Regions from separate parts of the Homo sapiens genome. Here region 1 is linked to region 2. Evidence: promoter capture Hi-C in human tissues and cell types (Jung and others, 2019). All regions are on one chromosome and are shown on one strand. Each heading gives the region's core, a stretch centred on a gene start or on the middle of the fragment in contact. The rest is flanking DNA. Distances are from core to core; before and after follow the strand shown.

The links. The method cuts DNA at HindIII sites, captures the fragments that hold promoters and counts their contacts. A contact is called where the count stands out against the background at its distance.
Region 1: a contact is called between a fragment that was not itself captured here and the fragment with the promoter of TXNDC2 in region 2, in 1 of the 25 tissues and cell types used here (mesenchymal stem cells).

The regions. Positions count from the first base shown.
Region 1 is chr18:9,512,725-9,518,052 of GRCh38, reverse strand. It overlaps RALBP1 (ralA binding protein 1), which reads right to left. Exons shown (of 10, transcript NM_006788.4): 2 at 4,764-5,062; 3 at 750-1,208. The coding sequence starts at 5,007. Among named protein-coding and RNA genes, the nearest start is that of RALBP1, 40 kb to the right of the region's middle. The HindIII fragment of the contact is 7,271 bases long and covers 1-5,328 here.
Region 2 is chr18:9,883,602-9,889,115 of GRCh38, reverse strand. It overlaps TXNDC2 (thioredoxin domain containing 2), which reads right to left and starts at 3,143. Exons shown (of 2, transcript NM_032243.6): 1 at 3,036-3,143; 2 at 1-2,527. The coding sequence starts at 2,435. The coding sequence ends at 975. The HindIII fragment of the contact is 24,551 bases long and covers 1-5,514 here.

The DNA.
Region 1 (5,328 bases), core at 2,335-4,834, 370 kb after region 2:
CATAAACGTGTCTCTTGGCCAAGAAGCTTCCTTCACACAGTTAACCTTTCTTTTCTTGCTGATGGCCCTCATACCACTGAGCCTCTGCTTAGAGAGGAAAGAAAAAAAAAAAAAAAAAAGCAGGCGCCTGGGAGTGGTGGCTCACTCCTGTAATCCCAGCACTTTGGGAGGCCGAGGAGGGCAGATCATCTGAGGTCAGGGGTTCGAGACCAGCCTGACCAACATGGTGAAACCCTGCCTCTACTAAAAATACAAAAATTAGCTGGGTGTGGCGGCAGGCGCCTGTAATCCCAGCTACTCAGGAGCCTGAGGCAGGGGAATCGCTTGAACCCAGGAGGCAGAGGTTGCAGTAAGCCGAGATCACGCCACTGCACTCCAGCCTGGGCAACAGAGCGAGACTCTGTCTCAAAAAAACAAACAAACAAAAGAAAAAAAAAAGCAGGGTCTGAATGCAGCCCTGTTAAGCAATGCTGCCAGTATACTTCACTTTGTTTTAGTCCTGGCTGCTGCAAGCTATGAACAACTAACGTGAAATCCTCCTAATGGAAGGAAATATTAAAAAAACAAATGCCAGAACACCAAAGAAAGGCTGGGGAGAGGGGTGGATTTTTGTGCAACTGGTAGGATCAAGGAAATGAATAAGGCTTAGGATCCAGGCCAAATTTTCCTCACAATAATTTTTCTTCCTTCGAAAAATGAAACTGAAGTTATTATTAAAAACCATCAAGTGAAGTGCACATTCCCAGTACCTGATACTCTGTAGATGCCTTCACACTTCATGCCATACTTCTCTACGTAATCTATACATTCACGGAAAACGGCTGGCAGCCGAATGCCATCATACATCATGGTCCTCTCTACTGCATCAGCCAAAGGAATTCCAAAAATGGGTTTGAGATTTGGAACATCAATCTGAGGCACCTCTGGCTCCTGAATTGGCTTTTTCTTTTTCTTCTTTTCCTTCCACTGTTTAACAACATCAGCTGCTGTCAAGTCTTTTGACTTCTTCTCTTTATGTTTTTCTTCTTTGTGCTTTTCTTCTTTATGCTTTTCTTCTTTGGGTTTCTCTTTTATTTTAAAATCCTTTTCCTTCTTTTTAGAAAAGCTGGGCTTCTTGAAAACATGGATTCCCTTGGACCTCTTCATTTTAGAAGGACTTTCTGCCTCATCTCCAGAGCTATCTTCCTGAAAGGCTGCATAGCCTTCAGCTGCCAAAGAAACAGAGACAGTATAAGTTATATGTTTGTTTAATGTCAAACTGTCCATATGCTTTCTAAAAACAGAACCAAAAAACGGTGCCACCTGGCACCAGCTAATCTAGCTTTTCACTTCTTGGCCAATTCCTCCTGGGCACTCCCAGCAAAGAAATGGGTTTCTTCTCAAAAAGAGATGTTGCAGTGACATCTCTTGACCACAAGAGGGGGACAAATAGATAGCAGTTACCATCCTTACAATATTAGGAGGGGAAACAGGGTTTATATTACATATGTGTGTAAGTGGAATTCAGGCAAACCAAACATTAGAGATACACCTGAAAGGCTCTACATAGAGGGCTAATGGAATGAATCCTTTTCTAAAGTAGACCGAGCATCCTTTCATCACGTGAGTCGTGTCCTCTAACATACTACGGGTTGAGTATCCCTTATCTGAAATACTTGAGACCAGAAGTGTTTCAAATTTCAGATTTTTCTGGATATTTGCATTATACCAGTTCAACATCTCTAACCCAAAAAATCTGAAATCCAAAATGCTCCAATGAGCATTTCCTCCAAGTGTCATGCCAGTGCTCAAAAAGATTCAGATTTTGTAGCATTTTGGATTTTCGGAATAGGGATACTCAACCTGTGTTCACTTTACCTACCCTAGCTTTTCCAGCTAAGTGCTGCCTAGCCTATAACTTTAGGCAATCTCAGAGAATGACGAACTGCACTACTGTTTATGTGTTTCAGTTATTCTCCTATGACACTTCACTCTCCTGTCACCAGCTGCTAAGTTCTTTATGGAGACTGCAGCAGGAACTGCAGACTCTTTTAAGTAGAGGATTGAACTGAGAAATTCCCTCATCTTTAGATGGTGGCCAAATCCACTGGGCCCACTTCCCTGCATCAGAAACCTCTGGTTTTTCACACACTGACAAATGTGCCCAATTGCTTTACCAACCATGTCAGAGTTGTCATAGTTTGGTTTTGTTGTTTTTTTTTTTAATATCTGTAACTCTCCTAATTCTTTTCCTTAGCTAGCTACCTTGCAAGCTATTATATAAAAGATAACAGCTATTTCCTAAGTTACCCTCTAACTAAAATACCATGTACCCCACACCAACCAGAATGGCAAGAATCTTAAGGACAAAATACCATGATGCTTTAGCAAGTGGAATATTCATACATTGCTGGTGAGAAGGTAAACTGGTACAAGCATTCTGGAAGACTGTTTTGCAGGGATCTACTGAAGCTGAAATACACATGGCCTACAAATGAGCAATTCCACTCCCAGGCATAAACATAACAGAAATACAAAAACATGTACACCACAGAAGCACTATTCATAACAGTCAAAAACTGAAAACCACCCAAACAAGCAACAAAAGTAGAAGAGATTAATAAACTCTAACATATAATGCAATGAAACAATATCTAGTGCAAAGATGAACAAATTACTGCCACATGGAATAACATGAATCAATCTAACAAACATGTTAGGTTAAAGCTGCCTCCTCATGTATTTTAAGTTTGGCCTAAAGGTTTCTCCGAACATAGGGAACTGTAACCTAACTGGATGTGTACACAGACTGTAATCTACTCTTGTACCAATTACAGAGTTTTGGCCAATCACAGGGGGGCAACTGTTCAAACTGCTCAAATAAGGCTAATGCCATGCTATAACCAATCCAGCTGTTTATGTACCTCACTTCTGTTTTCTGTGTGTCACTTTACATTTTCCGTCCATAAATATTACGTGACCATGTGGCAGCCCCAGAGTCGCTCTAAATCTATTCTGGTTTAGGGGCTACTGGATTCCCTAATCGTTCTTTGCTCAATTAAACTCTGTTAAACTGGCAAGGCAGGGTGGCTCACACCTGTAATCCCAGCACTTTGGGAGGCTGAGGTGGGCAGATCACTTGAGGTCAAGAGTTTGAGACCAGCCTCACCAACATGGTGAAACCCTGTCTCTACTAAAAATACAAAAATTAGCCAGGCATGGTGGCGGGTGCCTGTAATCCCAGCTACTTGGGAGGCTGAGGCAGGAGAATCACTTGAACCTGGGAGGCAGAGGTTGCAGTGACCCGTGATCACACTATTGCACTACAGCCTGAGCAACAGAGCAAGACTCTGTCTCAAAATAAAAACACAAAAGAAAAAAAACCCATTAAATTTAGTTTGTCTAAAAGTTTTACTTTTAACATATAATATTGGGTAAAAGAAGCTAGACACAAATAGAAGTATGCGTAAGTTTAAAATCAGGCAGCATCAATCAACAATAAAAGAAGTTTACTTATGGGAGGGGTAGGTGATTCCCTTTAAAGAGGCACAAAAGAAAATTGATAATGCTCTATTTCCAGATCCTTGTAGTGGTTACACAGGCATACCCACTCATCAAGTTGTATACAATTTGTGTACTCTGTGTAATTCTTCAAAAACAAATCAATTTAAAATGTCATGAAGTTCAAAATAAGGAATACTTAACATAACTCACTTTATTTGCTTTTAACATACTAAAAAGCCACGCTCAAATGATTCATCCTCCCTACTGAATAGGACCTCAAATGGAATGTATCATGGTATTTGCTTAAGATAAATAGCTACTTTATTGAAGGTTCCAAAAAAGTGTATCCCAAATAGCGAACACGACCTACCCAAGAAAAGTAAGATGCCTTAAGGGGAAAATTCCAGTATCTACCTTTTTTTGGGTGGGGCGTCAGCGGAGGAGAGGACAGAGTCTCACTCTGTCACCCAGGCTGGACTACAGTGGTGCAAGCATAGCTCACTGCAGCCTCAATCTCCTAGGCTCCTAAGCGGCTGTGACTACAGGCACACATCACCATGCTCAGCTAATGGTTTAAATTTTTGTTTCTCAGGCTCTTGAACTTCTGACTTCAAGCAATCCTCCCATCTCAGCCTCCCAAAGTGCTGGGATTATAGGCGTAAGCCACTGTGGCCAGCTTAATATCTTTCTAGACATCATTTTGAGTTATTACTTCAGGAAATATCCGCTAGAAAACTTTTCCATTTCTGGAAACTCAGTATTTTTATTTGTGAGATTAAGATCCCAAAATACAACTCTAATATACAAAAACTGAGACCCTGAAAAATAAAGAACAGAAAAGTCAAACAAGAATCTCTGCCTTCACATGTTTCCAGAAGACAGCTGGTACATGTAATTAGAGTGGAAGTTTATTTAAAATATATCTAGGACAGGCATAGTGGCTCACGCCTGTAATCCCAGCACTGTGGGAGGCCGAGGTGGGTAGATCACTTAAGGTCAGGAGTTCAAGACCAGCCTGGCCAACACGGCAAAACCCTGTCTCTACTAAAAACACAAAAATTAGCTGGGCATGGTGGCGCACGCCTGTAGTCCCAGCTATTCGGGAGACTAAGACATGAGAATTGCTTGAACCTCGAGGCGGAGGTTGCAGTGAGCTGAGATTGTGCTACTGCACTCCAACCTGGGCAACAGAGCAAGACTCTGTCCCAAAAAATAATAATAAAATAAAGTAAAATAAAATAAAATAAAAATATCTAGGCATAGGAAAAAATGGCACTTACTCCTCTTTTCCTTTTTCTTAAATTTCCCTTTTTTCTTCCCATGATCTTTCTCATCATCAGACACTACATCAGGAGGCTCATGGAGGATGTCATGGGGAGGTGAGGGCTCGCCAGTGCGGTACAATCCAGGAAACTTAGTAGGGCTGATCTCTTCAGAGCTGGGGGTCCGGGTAAGCCCGCTGCCATGCTCCACCCTGCGGTGTTCACTGGGGCTGCTGGTGGGGGGCAGGAAGCACTCAGTCATGCTGATGCCCTGACTAGGAAGGGACGAGGTCTTCTCTGTTACCTATCCATTACACCTGCACCAAGAGAAAAAACATTAGCAGAGTCACCTAACACCAAGGAACAAAAACACCACAGCATTTACAAATCAAAAATATTTTCTCCACAAACCCCCTTGTAAAAAACTCTTTCATTTTATTGTCTCGAGATATATTCCATGCATCACACATTTCAGTTCTCAGGGTTGAAAGCACTGGGATCTTCGAGTATTCAAAAAATAAATCAAATGAAAATCAGAGGTAGAGTTCTCAAAGTAGAATATGGAATTCCTTAAAAAAAAAAA
Region 2 (5,514 bases), core at 1,894-4,393:
CCACTCTGGACTAAGCCTCTGTCTATGGTTCAGACCTGGGACTTTGGGCTCATAGACATCTGGGGCTCACTAAGTTGTCCAAACAAGACTCTGGTAGCACTGTGATTAGGTTAATTCATTAAAGTCTAGGCCTATATGTCTAAGCTGGTAGAGTCATGTTAAAGGCTGGCTTGTTCAATATTGAAAATAAGAACAAATTTAAGTAAAAAAGTCAGAGGAAGGTCTAGGTATTATGAACTCAATTACCAGGGAGACGAACCAGGAACTCTGCCATCAGGGCACTGATGTCATAAAGGCAGCAAAGATCCAGAGGACTTCAACCTCCGAGAAACCTGAAGTTCCGACCTCTTGTCTGAGATTTTGTGAGCGTAGATTATAGTAGGTAGAGCCCTGGACTTGAAATCTGGAAGCGGCCTTGATCTCATTTCCGTCACCAACAAATCAGATCTTGGAAAACCCACTGAATTTCCCAAGGCCTCCGTAGCACTTCCGGCACAAGAAGGAGGTTAGCTAAGATGTGAATCTTTCAAATTCCTTATTTCCAAACATATCTTATCAGAATCCCCAAAGATGTGTGACATGAGAAAAGAAGTTTCCATTCACCTTTCAGTCATCTACCTCTATAGAAAAATTATCTAAATTTTCAGTCTTGCTGCAAACACTAAATGCGTGAAATTTTCAAAGACAAGTGAAAAATAAATACATATCAAGATTGAAAAATAGGAAACCATGGGACTTAGCAGTCTTCACCATGGGAATTTCTAATTTTATACTCTCCCACTAACAGAAACACAGTCGCAATGTACTTTAATGCTTGGACTGTTTTTTGAAAAGGGTAGAGTTAATATTATCATGTACAAGCAGTGCCATTTGGACATACACTTTTGTTATACCTGATCACTTTGTGTAAATAATAAAAGAGAACTCAAAAGCTATAAACACCTGACTGTCTGCAATGTTTTCAGAATACATGTTTACTTTAATTCTGCAATGACTGCTTCAAGTTTTTCCTTAAGGGCGCCGCAAAGTTCATCCACCTTTTCTTCTTTTTTATAAAACTGAAAGGTTGGGACACACATGATGGCGCACTCTCTCACCACCTCCTCACAGTTGTCAGCGTCCACCTCCAGGAACACCACATCCTCATGCTTCACAGACAGGGCATGGAAGAATGGTCTGATGGTCCTGCAGGGCCCACACCACGTGGCCGAGAAGTCCACAGCCACCAGCCTCTCCCCGGCCTCCTTCAGTGATGCCTCAAAGTCCTCCTTGCTCAGGATCACTTTCACCTTGTCCCCCTCCGGGAACTCCATTGTTTCTTCTTCAGGCTTTAGGATGTCACCCTCCTTGGATGGGGTGGCTTCTTCTAGGGACTTGGGGCTGTCATCCTCCTTGGGCTGGATGGTTTCTTCTGGGGACTTGGGGATGTCAATCTCCTTGGGTGGGATGGCTTCCTCTAGGGACTTGGGAATGTCACCCTCCTTGGGCTGGATGGCTTGTTTTGGAGACTTGGGAATGTCACCCTCCTTGGGCTGGATGGCTTCTTCTGGGGACTTGGGGATGTCACCCTTCTTGGGCTGGATGGTTTCTTCTGGGGACTTGGGGATGTCACCCTCCTTAGGCTGGATGGCTTCCTCTAGGGACTTGGGGATGTCACCCTCCTTGGGCTGGATGGCTTCTTCTGGGGACTTGGGGATGTCACCCTCCTTGGGCTGGATGGCTTCCTCTAGGGACTTGGGGAGGTCACCCTCCTTGGGCTGGATGGCTTCTTCTGGGGACTTGGAGATGTCACCCTCCTTGGGCTGGCTGGGCTTCACTGAGGCCTTGGGAATATTGCCCAGCTTGGGCTGGATGGGCTTTGCTGAGGACTTGGGGATGTCACCCTCCTTGGGCTGGATGGTTTCTTCTGGGGACTTGGGGATATCACTCTCCTTGGGCTGGCTGGGCTTCACTGAGGTCTTGGCAATATTGCCCAGCTTGGGCTGGATGGGTTTTGCTGAGGACTTGGGGATGTCACCCTCTTTGGGCTGGATGGCTTCTTCTGAGGACTTGGGGAGGTCCTCCTTCTTGGATTGGATGGTTTCTTCTGGGGCCTTGGGGATGTCACCCTCCTTGGGCTGGCTGGGCTTCACTGAGGCCTTGGGAATATTGCCCAGCTTGGGCTGGATGGGTTTTGCTGAGGACTTGGGGATGTTACTCTCTTTGGGCTGGATGGCTTTTTCTGAGGACTTGGGGAGGTCCTCCTTCTTGGATTGGATGGTTTCTTCTGGGGCCTTGGGGATGTCACCCTCCTTGGGCTGGATGGTTTCTTCTGAGGACTTGGGGCTGTCATCCTGCTTGGGATGGCTGGTGTTTGCTGAGGACTTGGGTAGGTCATCGCCCTCCTGTGAGGCATCAGACTCCTCTGTGCGCATGTGGAACGTGTGGCTGACCATGGGGAGAAAGGCCTTCTCTTTGGCCTGGGCTATTTCCAAGAACTCTAGGGCCAGGAGAGGCACGTTGCTGGACAGGACTAGTAATGAGCTTTCTGTACCAAAAAACATAAAATAAAATAAAATAAAATAAATCAAATAGAAATGCAAAAGAAGAACCAAAGAAATTCTCTTCATATTCCAAGGAAGACTGATGTCACTCTTCGAGATCACGAATGAAGTCTGATGAATGATGTATTAATCTGAAAAACTCATTCAGCAGAAGGACAAACAGCGTGTGGTTACACGTATCTTCTGTATACATGTTCTTAAGCTACAACTTTCCCTTCTTGGTTCAACACCCTGCCCGCTCCCTAACTGCATAGGTCTTTAAGGCAACCCTCTTTCCTCCCCTACTTACCATTAGCATCACCTTCACTTGTTTCTTCCTGAGTGCCCAGCCTCATTTCTGGTTTTCCAGAGGCTCCAGCTTTAACACTTTCCATTCCTAGTTCCTTGTCTACATCCATTCCTGATCCTTCATAGATGCCTCATAGTAAAGGCCGTACCCTCCAACTTTTTCCAAGCTATCCATCCTAACATCAAAATATGAGTAAAACTTACATTTGGGTGGCACGTTACAGTTGGTTTTCCCTCTCTGTATTCACAACAGTGATATTTGAGAGCTTCAAGGTGGCTCCCCTGTGCTGAGGCTGGGACTACGCATTCACTGGCATCATTTCCTAGAACACAACAAACCACTGAGGTCAGAACCATTATGATGAGTAGTTTACACATGAGAAGCTATGTAGCTCACTTAAGGTCACAAAGCTAGGGTGGGGGCAGGCTCCAAAGCTCATGCTCTGCACTGTGAGGCTGTGCTGGACTGCTCGCCACAAGTCCCGTCCAGCCTGGGTTCTGTGAATCAACCATCTTATCATCTTTCTCCAGGATCCCCCAGCTCCAACATTCTCTTTACGACTCACCCATTGTGACCAGCTCCTAAGTATCTCCTCGAAACCATGTTAGCCTCCTCTGCAAAGTGTCCCACAATGTCAAATGTTCAGCTCCTGCTAGACAGCCTCTTTCCCCACCTCCCCCACCTCCCAGGCGCACCAGCCCAGCCTGTGCCCTCCCCCATGCAGACACATCCAAGTACACGGCTCTTCCAGCCTTTACATACAGGAGAACAACCTCTTTGTGAATAATCCTGGTTCCATAAGCCACATCTACCCCATCCTGTGGAATGGGAAGCCAAATACCTGTCCCCCAGGGAGACTTATTTTATTAGTTCAGGACCACTGGCTCATTTTCCACCCTCACTCTGCACAACACATCCAGTCCAAGGCAGGAAGAATCAGTGTGGAATTTTGCCTTCTCTACATGTACTTTGAACAAATCCTCATATGTTTCAGTTTCACCCCAACAATATAAGTGTTGAAAGTGGTCAGGCATGGTGGCTCACACCGTGATCTCAGTACTTTGGGAGGCCAAGGTGGGAGGATTTCTTGAGCCCAGGAGTTTGAGATCAGCCTAGGCAACATAGCAAGACCCCATCTCTACAAAAAATACAAAACCTAGCCAGGCACAGTGGCACACGCCTGTCCCAGCTACTTGGGAAGCTGAGGTGGGAGGCTTGCTTGAGCCAGTGAGTTCAAGACTGCAGTGAGCCGTGATCACTACATCGTACTCTAGCCTGGGCAACAGAGCAAGGCCCCGTCTCTAAAAACTAAAAATAAAAGTGTTGAAATCTAAATGATAAGACCTCCACATTGTCAATAGAAACCTCGAAACATCTAATGGCAATGGTTCAATTATCTGGATTTTTATACCAAAACACATTTTACTAAGGGGTAGAGAGACTATTGGCCTTAGCAAATCCATAGTTCCTTTTTTTTTTTTCTTTGAGACAGTCTTGCCCTGTCACCGAGGCTGGAGTGCAGTGGCACAATCTCGACTCACTGCAACCTCTATCTCCCAGGTTCAAGCAATTCTCTTGCCTCACCCTCTCGAGTAGCTGGGATTACAGGCATTCACCACCACACCCGGCTAATTTTTGTATTTTTTTTAGTCGAGACAGGGTTTCACCATGTTAGCAAGGCTGGTCTCTAACTCCTGACCTCAAACGATCCACCTGCCTCAGCCTCCCAAATTGCTGGGATTACAGGCGTGAGCCACCATGCCTGGCCCAGCAAATCCGTAGTTCTTGATGATATGAATCCTGTTCCAGGAAGAGCTCATGCTTCCACTCCGTTTCCTCGGTTACTGCCAAAGAAAGCTCTTCCCTCTCTCACTGGGAGACTTTGGGCCTTTCTTATGTGATATTTTAAAGGACGGGAGGTTGTCTTCACTCTCCAATGCCAACGGCTTCCACAGCTGACAGGACTGTTTTTCATGGTGCCCTATTTTAAAGCAGAGGATGAAAATAAACGTCAGGCACTTATCTGGGCAATGTCTTCTTTCTTAGTGTTAGGAGAAAGGAGGTGAAGCGGGGAGGATAGGCATCATTTGCAGAAACCATCATGAGCAGATTTTATTAGCACAAAGTGGGCAGCATCTTTGGCCCTTGCTCATTGGTAAGTTAATTTACTTCCTGGGACCCTATCTTGTACAGGGTCCCTGCTGTTTGGAAGGGAGTGGATGAGGACACAGAGGAACTCCATCGCTGAGAGGCAGAAGTGAAAACATCACTCCTGCCATCCCAGTAGATGTGGAGGCAAGAGGACAGATGCCTGTGTCCCGGCCTCCTTTCTCCAGGTTGATTGCCAGCACAGATACTAATCAGATGTGCTACTCTACTAAAAATGCGATTTTAGATCTCTACTAAAAATACGAAAGTTAGCCGGATGTGGTGACAAATGTCTGTAATCCCAGCTACTCAGGAGGCTGAGGCAGGAGAATCGCTTGAACCTGGGAAGCAGAGGTTGCAGTGAGCGGAGATGGTGCCACTGCACTCTAGCCTGAGCAACAGAGCAAGACTCTCTCAAAAAAAGAAAAAAAAAAAAGATAAAAAAAGACTTGCAGCTGAAAGCAGAGGGGCATCTGCCTCCTGCTCCACTTGGAAGGCCAGGATGAGCCCACGTGGACTTCACATCCAACACAG